Regions from separate parts of the Homo sapiens genome. Here region 2 is linked to region 1. The links are contacts of gene promoters, found by promoter capture Hi-C in blood cells and fetal thymus (Javierre and others, 2016). All regions are on one chromosome and are shown on one strand. The core of a region is centred on a gene start or on the middle of the fragment in contact, and the rest is flanking DNA. Distances in the headings are between cores, read along the strand shown. Region 1 holds the start of ALG3 (ALG3 alpha-1,3- mannosyltransferase). Region 2 has its middle 7.0 kb from the start of HTR3E-AS1.

What was found. The method cuts DNA at HindIII sites, captures the fragments that hold promoters and counts their contacts. A CHiCAGO score of 5 or more calls a contact.
Region 2: a fragment that was not itself captured here is called in contact with the fragment with the promoter of ALG3 in region 1 in 2 of 17 cell types (M1 macrophages and endothelial precursors); the score reaches 6.2 in M1 macrophages.

The regions. Positions count from the first base shown.
Region 1 is chr3:184,246,606-184,253,268 of GRCh38, forward strand. ALG3 (ALG3 alpha-1,3- mannosyltransferase) reads right to left here and starts at 2,357. Exons shown (of 9, transcript NM_005787.6): 1 at 2,140-2,357. The coding sequence starts at 2,335. It overlaps EEF1AKMT4-ECE2 (EEF1AKMT4-ECE2 readthrough), which reads left to right and starts at 3,067. Exons shown (of 19, transcript NM_014693.4): 1 at 3,067-3,285. The coding sequence starts at 3,090. It overlaps EEF1AKMT4 (EEF1A lysine methyltransferase 4), which reads left to right and starts at 3,067. Exons shown (of 3, transcript NM_032331.4): 1 at 3,067-3,285. The coding sequence starts at 3,090. RefSeq lists enhancers at 938-1,681, 1,682-2,425, 2,624-2,673, 2,754-2,813, 2,844-2,953. The HindIII fragment of the contact is 5,512 bases long and covers 1-5,457 here.
Region 2 is chr3:184,108,843-184,115,505 of GRCh38, forward strand. No RefSeq gene overlaps it. Among named protein-coding and RNA genes, the nearest start is that of HTR3E-AS1, 7.0 kb to the left of the region's middle. The HindIII fragment of the contact is 3,629 bases long and covers 540-4,168 here.

The DNA.
Region 1 (6,663 bases), core at 1,107-3,606:
ACTCCCTTCACTTGATTTCTACACTCTAGCTCTAAAAAAATCATTTCAGTTCCTCAAAGGAACCAGGCTGTCTTCTTTTTTTTTTTTTTTTGACAGAGTCTCACTCTGTCACCCAGACTGGAGTGCAGTGGTACGATCTCAGCTCACTGCAACCTCCGCCTCCCGGGTTCAAGTGATTCTCCTGCCTCAGTCTCCCGAGTAGCTGGGACTACAGGTGTGTGCCACCATGCTTGGCTAATTTTTTAAGTTTTGTATTTTTAGTAGAGATGGGGTTTCACCGTGTTGGCCAGGCTGGTTTGTTTGTTTGTTTTTCTTTTGAGACAGGGTCTCGCTCAGCCACCCAGGCTGGAGTGCAGTGGTGCGATCTCAGCTCACTGCAACCACCATCTCCCCGGTTCGAGCCATTTTCCCATCTCAGCCTCCCAAGTAGCTGGGATTACAGGCACTTGCCATCATGCCCAGCTAATTTTTCTATTTTAGTAGAGACAGGGTGTCAACATATTGGCCAGGCTGGTGTTGAACTCCTGACCTCAGGTGATCTGCCCGCCTCGGGCTCCCAAAGTGCTAGAATTACAGGCATAAGCCACCGTGCCCAGCCAGGCTGGTCTTTAACTCCTGCCCCCAAGTGATCCGCCCACCTCAGCCTCCCAAAGTGCTGGGATTACAGGCATGAGCCACCGTGCCCAGTCTAACTGAATTTTTTTTTTTTTTGACACGGAGCTTGCTCTGTCACCCAGGCTGGAGTACAGTGGCGCAATCTCGGCTCACTGCAACCTCCACCTCCCGGGTTCAAGCAATTCTCCTGTCTCAACCTCCCGAGTAGCTGGGATTACAGGCATATGCCACCACGCCCAGCTAATTTTTGTATTTTTAGTAGAGACAGGATTTCATCATGTTGGCCAGGCTGGTCTCAAATTCCTGACCTCAGGAGATCCACCCGCCTAGGCCTACCAAAGTGCTGGGATTACAGGCGTGTGCCGCTGCGCCCAGCCTAGCTGGAGATTTTTAATAGAGGATCCTCTGTCCACAGCACTCCTTCCCCTCACCTTTTTCTTCTTTCCTTAAATAGCTAATTCCTACCTTCCAAGGGTGGCTCTATGAAGCCTTTGCTGACTCCTCCAACCTGGTTTAAGTGACTTCCTATGCCCTTTATGGTATCCTGTGTTACTACTACCATGATTATGATGCATTATAATTGCCTGCTAACTTACTGTCCAGGCCCGAGTTAGAAATGCATCCTTTTTCTTTTTTTTTTTTTGAGACGGAGTCTTGCTCTGTCGCCCAGGCTGGAGTGCAGTGGCGTGATCTCGGCTCACTGAAAGCTCTGCCTCCCGGGTTCACGCCATTCTCCTGCCTCAGCCTCCCGAGTAGCTGGGACTACAGGCGCCCGCCACCATGCCCGGCTAAATTCTTTTTTTTTTTTTTTTTTCAGTAGAGACGGGGTTTCACCGTGTTAGCCAGGATGGCCTCGATCTCCTGACCTCGTGATCCGCCCGCCTCGGCCTCCCAAAGTGCTGGGATTACAGGCGTGAGCCACCGCGCCCGGCAGAAATGCATCTCTTATTCACCACTGTACCTCTCTCTGGTAACCAGCATAATGCTAGGCATATAATAAGCACTAAATAAATATTTGTTGAATTAAGAGTCTTTAGCAAGAAAGCCAAGTGCCTTAAGCCTAGAGTATAGTTTCAGCCTGGAAAGGAGTAGCCAATAATGCCTAATGGACTCAAGTGGTCACAAGATGCCATCATTGAGAAGGGACGTTCAAAGATCACAGAACTGAACACATGGAAAAAGCTGAGATCCAGGAGGAGACCTGAGGTGTCCAAAGCCACAGAGAAAAGCAGCAGCAGCAGCAGTACAACAATTTTGGCTCAAATCTGACTTCTAAGCTGGTTTGCAGGCTGTAAGTTCAGTGCAGAAGGCCAATCTCTAGGGTATCCACCTCTGCCATGCGGGCAGATTAAGATCCGGTTTTCTGTAGAGCAGGCTTGGCGCTCAGGTAAGGGATATGGATGGGTTCGCAATTGACGAGTGAGTGGATACAGAGTCTGGTTTGGAGTTCCAGGTCTGAGATCCAGTTTGGGTCGCGGGTTCAGGTCTCCCTCCCTCCCCTCCCCTCCCCCTCGGCGCACTCACATGCCACCCTGTGAATGACCCAGAAGGTGATGCCCACCTCCGCCAGGCAGAGGCAGGCGGCCACCAGCAGCGTGTAGCGCGGCTCCCGCAGCAGCAGGCGCCGCTCTTGCCAGGCGCGCTGCAGCCATTGCTTGCAGAGTCCCTCTGCCTGGGCCGCGGAACCGGACCGGCCGCGTTTCCGCAGCCCAGCCGCCATCTTAACGGTGCGCCGCTTGTGTGGGCCCACCACCCCCGGAAACCCGAACCTTCGACACTTAGGTTCCGCTTCCCGTGCCTGGCGTCCCACCAGGCTAAGCGCCGATCCGAGTAGCCAGTCTTCATTTACTCCACTAAAATGTAATTTTTCTGCATTTGTCTCCTCTGATGCACTCCACGCTCCATAGGAGCAGGGACAATGTCTTACTCCTCAGTTTATACCCAGCCCTGGGTACACAGGCGCTAATTTAGAACGAATGTCCAGAAAAGCAACATTCCTGCCTACCTCCCCCACAACCGCTGAAGCCAGCATTCTCCTTCGCCTGCGCTGGGAACATCTGTGTTCATGCTGTCTCTCCAGGAGGGCAAAGCCCCTGTTCGCGCCCCTCCTGCCTGCCCTTCGAGCCTTCCGGATGCTGAGAAAAATGAACCTTTCACTAATTTTCAGATTTCCTGATAAAAGTCATTCATATTGAAAATATGAGAGGACGCAGTGATGAGCCCACGTGAGTCTGACACCTTGAGTGCGGCCCTAGGAAATGACTTGGCAGTACAGCCGGAGGATTCAGGGTCTGGACGATAGTTTTCCCAGCCGGAGGATTCTTCGAAGAGCGCTTAGTAAAGGACGGAAGTTCCACGTGTTTGTGTTGAGCAACTGCAGGTGGTGGGCGGAGACACCAGCGCCCCGCCTTCTGCATCCTGCCTTCCGTATTGGCTGAAGGGCCGGCGGCTCTGGCTGCCCGGCGGTTGAGAGCATGGCCTCTCCAGGGGCAGGTAGGGCGCCTCCGGAGTTACCGGAGCGGAACTGCGGGTACCGCGAAGTCGAGTACTGGGATCAGCGCTACCAAGGCGCAGCCGATTCTGCCCCCTACGATTGGTTCGGGGACTTCTCCTCCTTCCGTGCCCTCCTAGAGCCGGAGCTGCGGCCCGAGGACCGTATCCTTGTGCTAGGTGGGTAATCCCGGCGCGGCCCCGCCAGGTAGAGCTGGCAGGACCGGCGCCGCATGGGCTTGGCCTGGTCCGCTTTCCTCCCGCCTGTCTATCCCTCTTGGAGGACGCCTGCGTTGGGACGCGAGATCCAGCTCCTTCAGAGTCCCGGCTGTATTTAGTCAAGGCTAACAGGAGTAAGAGATTGTTGGTCCCGGGGCCCTCTGGAGAAAGACAGTCCCTCAGAGTTTGAGCGTTGGGGGTACCCAAGACCCTGTCCGGACCCTCGGGAGGCAGGCAGCCTTGGGGACCGGATTGCTCAGAGGACCGAGATCAAGTCCTAGCGCTAATTGACTTGTAAAACTTAGGACAAGTCATGAACCCGTTCTGAGCTTTAGATTCAGTTCTAGAAATGGTACTGCGAGTTCACATCGGAGGCGGCACGCGCAGGCACCTCGAGAATAATGCCCAGCGCTTTTCTTTTTGCCCCTGGGCACTGGGAGCCAGAGTCACCTAGAGAGAGTCCTGTCTGAAACTTGGTCCTATGCCTTAGAGAGTGAGAACAGCACCCTCTAGGGGTGGAGGGGAGATTGCCGCCCAGGGTGATACGATTCCCCAAAGGGAGACGTGCTGGAGGAAAGGTAGGGCTCTGGGGTGTTCGGCTGACCTCTTGAGGTTCTCTCCTAGTGTCAGCCTTGGAGGCGCTAGTAAAGTTTGAATGAGCAACAGATTTTCTTCCAATTGTCGTTTTTACTTTGCTCTTTGTAAAAGCCTTTGTATGTTTAAGTGAAGTCTTTAATAAATAAAAAAGGTATATGTAATATATATGTAAGGTATAAATAACAAATCTAATGTGTGTGTCTATTCCACTCAGTTTGAGAAATAGAACATTACTAGGGATAGAAAAAAAAGTATAATTTAGTGGTTAATAACTTGGCTGGGCGCGGTGGCTCACGCCATTAATCCCAGCACTTTGGGAGGCCAAGGCGGGCGGATCACCTGAGGTCGGGAGTTCGAGATCAGCCTGACCAACATGGAGAAACCCCATCTCTACTAAAAATACAAAAAATTAGTCGGGTGTGGTGGCGCATGCCTATAATCCCAACTACTTGGGAGGCTGAGGCAGGAAAATCGCTTGAACCAGGGAGGCGGAGGTTGTGGTGAGCCAAGATCATGCCATTGCACTCCAGCCTGTGCAAGAAGAGCAAAACTCTGTCTCAAAAAAAAAAAAAAAAAAAGAAAAGAACTTGGACTCTGGGCTGGCCTCATGATTCATGCTCATAATCCCAGCACTTTGGGAGGCCAAGGTGGAAGGATCACTTGATCGCAGGAGCTCAAGACCAGCCTGGGCAACATAGTGAGATCCCATCTCTACAAAAAATTTAGGCCAGAGCAGTGGCTTATGCTTGTAATCACAACACTTTGGGAGACCAAGGCGGGTGGATCATTTGAGGTCAGGAGTTCAAGACAAGCCTGGCCAACATGGTGAAACCCCGTCTCTACTAAAAATACAAAAATCAGCCAGGTGTGGTGGCACGTGCCTGTAATCCCAGGTACTTGGGAGGCTGAGGCAGGAGAATCACTTGAGCCCAGGAGGTGGAGGTTGCAGTGAGCTGAGATTGCACCACTCCACTCCAGCCTGGGTGACAGAGTAAGACCCTGTCTCAAAAAAAAAAAAAATTAAAACTTAGCTGGGCATGGTGGCCTGTGCCCATAGTCCGAGTTACTCAAGAGGCTGAGGCAGGAGGATCGTTTGAGCCAGGAGATCCAGGCTGCAGTGAGCTGTGATGGCTCCAATGGGCTCCAGCCTAGGCGACAGAATGAGACCCTGTCTCAAAACAAAGCAAAACAAAAAACAAACAAACAAAAAACCACCTTGGACTCCAGAGGCAGTGAATTATGTTGGAATCTTGGCTCGGCTTATACTGGCTGTGTAATCCTGGACAAAATACTTGAATTTCTGTGCTTCCATTTTCTCAACCTTAAAAACATAAGCATATTTATTAATTGGGCTTTAAGTTGATTAAATGAGCATGAAGGATACCTAGAACAATGCCTGGCAAAATGAAAAGTATATTCAAGGTTCTCTGTGTGGTCCTCCTAAAACCCCTTCTCCCCACAAGTAAACACTTTCTTGAATCTGTGATTTTAAACCATTGCACTTATTTATAGATTTACCTTAGATCTGTTTTCTCAAGCTTTAGTGTGTATCAAAATTACCTGGGGAACTAGACTGCACTGTGAGATTCTAATTCCAGGGATGGTCTAATGTGGGTCTCAGGAATCTGTATGTTCAACAAGCTTCACAGCAGATTCTTATGCTGGTGATTGGCAGAGTAACACTGCCTTAAAATCTGCTTGACTGGTTTTTCACCAAACTGATGCTTTAAAAAAAATCTGCTTAACTGGGAACTATCCTTTTCTGGATAGGAGGGGCAAGAAGTCTAAAAATCAAAAGGGGAATTTCTAGAATCCCCAAGATGTAAGAACAGGACCCACAACTTGGGAAATACTCTACGTTACATTCCACCTCAACAGACTTAAGTTGAGTGCCTGATAAGAGCCAGAGAATGTGCTGGGCCCTTTCTAACTTACTTAATCCTTATGACAACCCCTGAAGACAAGTCAAAAGTACTAAGAGACTTACTCCAGGTTAGGGGTCTGTAAACTTTGTTTGAAAATGGCCAAACAAGTAAATTTTTTAGGCTTTGCAGGCTACACAGTCTCTTTTACAATGACTTGGTTCCGCTATTGTAGTGGAAAAGCAGCTACAGACAATACAAAAGTGAATGATGGCCGGGCAGGGTGGCTCACGCCTGTAATCCCACCACTTTGGGAGGCCGAGGCGGGCGGGTCACCTGAGGTCAGGAGTTCGAGAGCAGCCTGGCCAGCATGGTGAAACCCCGTCTCTACTAAAAACATAAAAATCAGCCAGGTGTGGTGGCAGGCACCTGTAATCCCAGCTACTCCAGAGGCTGAGGCAAGAGAATTAATTGCTTGAACCAGGGAGGCGGAGGTTGCAGTGAGCCAAGATTTCACCACTGCACTCCAGCCTGGGTGACAGGGTGAAACTCCATCTCAAAAAAAAAAAAAAAAAAAAAAAAAGTGAATGAGAATAGCCATGTTTCAATATAACTTTATCTAACAAAATAGGTGGCAAGCTGCATTTGGCAACCCCTGCACTCATTGTCTTAGATTGAGTTCCCCAGAAGCAAATCCTGAGATGAGGATTCATGTCCAAGTTACTTGTCAAGAATGTGCTCCCAGGAGAATTGGTAAGAGCTAGAGGGAACAGAGAAAGGGAAGAAGCAAAGTTTCCCTGAAGGTAGTTTCAGCCTGAAGAGTCACAGATGTACACCATTAGAAGCAAACACACACCAAAACCCAGGGATATAAAAATAA
Region 2 (6,663 bases), core at 1,104-3,603, 140 kb before region 1:
CAGCCTAAGCGACAAAGCAAGGCCCTGTCTCAAAAAAAATAAAAATAGAAATAAAGGCTATTTGGGAGAATGTGTCTTCATATCTATGGATAAGGGATTTTTGTTATTGTTATCCTTTCATTGTTAATTTCTAGTTTCTTGGTTTATGATCAGAGAGCATGGTGTATAAATTTAAACCTTTTTGGATTTATAAAGCTTTCTTGGCCAGGCGCAGTGGCTCATGCCTGTAATCCCAGCACTTTGGGAGGCCAAGGCGGGTGGATCACGAGATCAGGAGTTCGAGATCAGCCAGGCCAATACGGTGAAACCCCGTCTCTACTAAAAATACAAAAATTAGCTGGGCGTGGTGGCGCATGCCTGTAGTCCCAGCTACTCAGGAGGCTGAGGCAGAAGAATCACTTGAACCCAGGAGGTGGAGGTTGCAGTCAGCCAAGATCACACCACTGTACTCCAGCCTGGAAGACAGAGGGAGACTCTGTCCCAAAAAAAAAAAAAAAAAAGCTTTTTCTCTGGCTGAATGCATGATTGGTTCTGTAACAAGCTTTGTTTCAGGACATTTAAAAAGTATATATTTGTGTTCTTAGGTGTTCTTTTTTTTAAAAAAAGTATATATTCTCTCTATATGCATCTACTAAATAGAGCTTATTTATTACATTATTCAAATCCTCTATATCATAGCTTATTTTTGTCTGTGTGGTCTGTTAAAGTTCAAAAGTATTTTATCCATGTTCTCTGGGTACTTGTAGTTTTCCTTTTATATGCTTGACAGCTATGTGATTTGATGCATAAAAATGTATGGTTATTATATCTTCTTGAATTGTGCCTGATTTTATCCTCATATATTGTCACTATTTGTTCTGTTCAATGTGTTTTGAACATGATTTCCATTTGTAGGATAGTGTTGCAAATCTTGCTTTTGCCTAGTATATTTTCGCACATCTCTTTCATTAATTCTTGATTCATTTTTGGAAGAGTAATATACATACAAGGTACAAATATCAAAAGGTACAGTATGGTCTGGGCACAGCGTTTCATGCCTGTATAAAAATAAAAATAATAGACCAGCCTGGCCAATATGGTGAAACTCCATCTGTACTAAAAATACAAAAGCTAGCGGGGCATGGTGGCACATACCTGTGGTCCCAGCTACTTGGGAGGCTGAGGCAGGAGAATCACTTGAACCCAGGAGGCAGAGGTTGCAGTGAGCCAAGATTGTGCCACTGCACTCCAGCCTGGGCAATAGAGGGAGACTCCGTCTCAAAAATAAATAAATAAACAAAAATTTTAAAAAAATTAAAATTAAAAAATAAATAAAATAAAATAAAATAAAATAAAAACGATAACAGCCCTTTCCCAAAACAAACCTCCTTCTTGCCTGGGGACTAGACTGCCTTTATAGGACTAACGAACTAGCCACAAGATTAGAAATTATGGTTTAGGAGTCATGCAGGTGGAGGCTACAAAATTCTGACCCTCCCTAAACTGCTCCTAAGATCAGTGCTTAAGGTATTTTGCAGACCCTGCACTTAATGAATCAGCTGGCCACCAAGATCGATAAACTGACTCATCTGATCTTGTGGCCCCGACCCAGGAACTGACTCAGCACAAGAGGACAGCTTCAACTTCACATGATTTCATCTCTGATCTGACCAATCGGCACTCCTGGCTCACTGGCTTCCCCCAACCCACCAAGTTGTCCTTAAAAACTCTGATCCCCGAATGCTCAGGGAGGCTGATAAAATTCCAGTGTCCCGCACAGCAGGCTCTGCATGAATTACTCTTCCTCTATTGCAATTTCCCTGTCTTGATGAGTTGGCTCTGTCTAGGCAGCAGGCAAGGTGACCCCATTGGCGATTACAGACGCTTGAATTTCACTAGGTTATGTCAAATGTGTGTTTTCACTAATCCTTTCTGTGTCTCAGTGACCTTTTTCAATGTGAATATTTAAATCTTTCTTCTGTTTGGGGAATTTTTTCTAGGATATAAGTAACACTCTACTTACTCTCTTCCATCTGTTCTTTTTCTGTTCAGGCATTTCTTTTTTTTTTTCTTTTTTTTTTTTTTTTGAGATGGAGTCTCGCTCTGTCACCAGGCTGGAGTACAATGGCGTGATCTCAGCTCACTGCAACCTCCACCTCCTCGGTTCAAGCGATTCTCCTGCCTCAGCCTCCCAAGTAGCTGGGACTACAGGCGCACGCCACCATGCCCGTCTAATTTTTGTATTTTTAGTAGAGATGGGGTTTCACCATGTTGGCCAGGATGGTCTTGATCTCTTGACCTCGTGATCTACCCGCCTCGGCCTCCCAAAGTGCTGGGATTACAGACATGAGCCACCGTACCCAGCGCTGTTCAGGCATTTGTGCTATTCACAAGTTAGGTCCTATGGATCTGTTTTCTAAACTGTCTTTTTCTCTTCCAGCTTCCATTTTTTGTGGCTTGGCTTTGTGTTGTGACCAATCTTTCAGACAACAATTCAGTTTTCAGGAGTGACCATTTCTATTCTCAGCTCATCTACTGAATGTTTTAATTAAAAATAATTTTTAATTTCATAAAGTCTTTTTTTATTTTTTTGAGACGGAATCTTGTTCTGTTGCCCAGGCTGGAGTGCAGTGGCACGATCTTGGCTCACTGCAACCTCCACCTCCCGGGTTCAAATGATTCTCCTGCCTCAGCCTCCCAAGTAGCTGGGATTACAGGTGCATGCCACCGTACCCGGCTAATTTTGTATTTTTAGTAGAGATGGGGTTTCACCATGTTGGCCAAGCTGGTCTTGAACTGCTGACCTCAGGTGATCCACCCACCTCGGTTTCCCAAAGTGCTGGGATTACAGGCATGAGCCACCATGCCCAGCCTCATGAAGTCTTTTAAGTGTTCTAATCACATGTCCTAGAAATTATCTTCTCTCCTTTCTTAATCCTACTTCAGAAGGAGCCCTTGTCCTCAATATTCATATTGGTCATTGACATGGTTTATTTATTTTATTTTATTTTATTTTATTTTATTTTATTTTATTTATTGAGATGCAGTCTTGCTCTGTCTCTCAGGCTGGAGTGTAGTGGCATGATCTCGGCTCACTGCAACCCAGTGAGGTTCAAAAAATTCCAAAGATTCTCCCAGGTTCAAAAGATTCTCCTGCCTCAGCCAACCAAGTAGCTGGGATTACAGGCGCCTGCCAACGTGCTTGGCTAATTTTTGTATTTTTAGTAGAGAAGGGGTTTCACCATGTTAGCCAGGCTGGTCTCGAACTCTTGACCTCTCAGGTGATCCGCCCATCTCAACCTCCCTAAGTGCTGGGATTACAGGTGTGAGCTACTGTGCCCGGCCTGACATGGTTAATTTTAAATGTCAATTTGGCTAGACTGTGGCGCCCAGTCGTCTGGTCAAACACTGGTTTAGATGTTGCTGTGAAGGTATTTTGTATATGTGATTGACAATCAGTAGGCTTTTTTTTTTTTTCCTTTTGAGACAGAGTATCTGTTGCCCAGGCTGGAGTGCAGTGGTGCGATCTCAGTTCACTGCAACCTCCGCCTCCTGGGTTCGAGCGATTCTCGTGCCTCAGCCTCCCAAGTAGCTGGGATTACAGGCATGTGCCACCACACCTGGCTAATTTTGCATTTTTTTAGTAGAGACGGGGATTCACCATGTTGGCCAGGCTGGTCTCGAACTTTAGCCTCCAGTGATCCACCCGCCTCGGGATCCCAAAATGCTGGGATTACAGGTGTGAGCCACTGCGCCTGGCCCCGTTGTTTTCGTTGCCTGCTCGTAATTTTGTGTCCTCTCAGTACCTGTATAGGTCACACTGTAAGGTTCTTTCGAAGAAGAGCAAACCAACTTAACTGTGGCGGCCTGGGCCAGGCTGCTTATATGAACCAGTGATGAAACACTGTCATTCTGCTGAAGCACATGGAGGGCATGCCTCAATTCCCAGGTCAATCCAGGAACAAGTAGCAATCCTCTCCCATGTGCAGAGAATGGAAATAATTGAACGTATTCATTCAATTTCCCCTGCCTTCCAACATGAACCAGTCAGGCTGTCCAATGACCACAGCAGCAAACAGTTAGAGGCAGCTCTTCCCCAAGTTCACAGGTTTCTATTTGAAGTCTATCTGCTGGACTCCTTCGGAGGACTGTAAAGCTCTGATCTTTACACAAGCCTCAAAGAGAGACAAGCTTTTTCCTCAATACTGGTCCATATCATTCAATTGGAACCCAAAGAGAGGAAACAAAGGCACAGACCTGACCATCATTCTTCTTTCCACTCTCTTACCTCTTTTCACTCCTTTATTTTCCCCAAACCCCCTACAATGTCAGGGGTGAGATTTTCCCCTGCATCATATCATCATTCTTCCTGACTCTAGTTTCTTGACTAAATGGTAGACAAAGTTGTCTTCTAGATTATGGGGAAAGCTCATAATTTGACCAACTAGGTCAAATTATGCTTGGTATGCTTAAGAGAGATCTAAAAGTATATAGAAATTCCTTTCACTCTCAAACTATTACCTTGCTGAATAATCACAGTTTTAATATGAGCCATTAAATGTTACCTTTTTCAAAACATGGGTTTTTTCATTTTTCATAAATTACAAGTTTATAGAGAGAGAGAAGGAATCTCTCAATTAAAAAAATTAAGGTGCATAACTTCACACTAGTCATGATAAAATGTTAAATAAACTTAAGTTGATTCTAATAATTTGAAACAGCTTCCCATAGGCATTGACAGCTTCACTGGTAAATTTTATCAAATACTTAAAGAAGAATTAATACCAATTCTACACGGTCTCTTTCAGAAATTAAAAGAAGAGGAAACATTTTGCAACTCATTCTATGAGGCCAGTATTATTATCCAGATACTGAAACCAGACAAAGATGTTATATTTAAAAACAAAAAAACTACAGACCAATATCTCATATGAATATAGACGTAAAAATCCTCAACAAAATACTAGCAAACAGACCGGGCACAGTGGCTCAAGCCTATAATCCCAGCACACTGGGAGACCAGGGCCGGTGGATCACCTGAGGTCAGGAGTTCGAGACCAGCCTGGCCAACATGGCAAAACCCCATTTCTATTAATACAAAAAAAATTAGCCAGGCATGGTGGCGTGCACCTGTAATCCCAGCTACTTGGGAGGCTGAGGCAGGAGAAATACTTGAACCCAGGAGACAGACGTTACAGTGAGCTGAGATTGCACCACTGCACTCCAGCCTGGACAACAGAGTGAGACTGTCTCAAAAAAAAAAAAAAAAATACTAGCAAACTGAATCCAGCAACATATAAAAAGGATTATATGCAATGAACAAGTGGAACTCATCCCAAGAATACAAGATTGGTATAATATCAGAAAATCAATTAATGTAATACACTATATTAAGAGAACAAAACCCACATGATCATTTTAATAGCTGCAGAAAAAGCATTTGACAAAATCCAAAACCTTTTATGATTAAAAAATAACACTCAACAAACTAAAAATAAAAATAACTTCCTCAATCTGTTAAAGGGCATCTATGAAAAATCTACAGCTAACATCATACCAAATGGCAAAAAATTGAATCTTTTCCCCCTAAAAGTGGGAACAACACAAGAATATTTATTCTCTCCACCTCTATACAACATTGTACTTAACATTATTCAGGGCAGGCCGGGTGCGGTGGCTCATGTCTCCCAGAACTTTGGGAGGCCAAGGTGGGTGGATCACTTGAAGTTAGGAAGTGGAGAACAGCCTGGCCAACATGGTGAAACCCCATCTCTACTAAAAATACAAAAATTAGCCAAGCATGGTGATGGGCACCTGTAATCCCAGCTATTTGGGAGACTGAGGCGGAAGAATCGCTTTAACACAGAAAGTGGAGGTTGCGGTGAGCCAAGATCTCACCACTGCACTCCAGCCTGGGCGACAGAGCGAACAGTCTAAAAGAAAAAAAGAAAAATAAATAAAAAGGCATCCAGATTGAAAGGAAAAAGTAAAGCAATCTCTGTTTGCAGATGATATGATCCTGTAAATAGAAAATCCCAAGGAATTCACTAACAATCTACCAGAACTAATAAATGAGTTCAGCAAGGTTACAGGACACAAGATCAACATACCAAAAGTATTGTATTTATATATACTAGCAATAAACATTCTGAAAATAAAATTAAGAATCATTTTTAAAAAAATAAGGCATTTAGGGATAAACTTCACAAAAGAAGTGCAACACTTGTATACTGAAAACTAAAAAACACTGTTGAAAAAAATTAAAGAAGATCTAAATAAATGGAAAGATAAGATATACCATGTTTAAGATTTGGAAAGCTTAAATCCTCTGAAGATGCCATTACTCCCCAAATTGATCTACAGATTCAATGCAATCTGTATCAGAATCTTGGCTGTCTTTTTTTTTTTTTTTTTTTTTTTTGCAGAAATTGACAAGCTGATTCTAAAATTCGTATAGAAATTCAAGAGGCCTGCATGCTTTAGCATCCTGGTGCTGCTATACTGCAGAGCCCTGTGGTCCCTTAGCCAAGCTGCCTGAGGAAACCCAGACCCAAAACCAACCGATGGAGGAAGAAGAGGTTGAGATGTTTGCCTTTCAAGCAGAAACTGTCCAGTTGATGTCACTGATCATCAATACTTTCTACTTGAACAAAGAAACCTTTCTGAGAGAGCTCATTTCAGCAT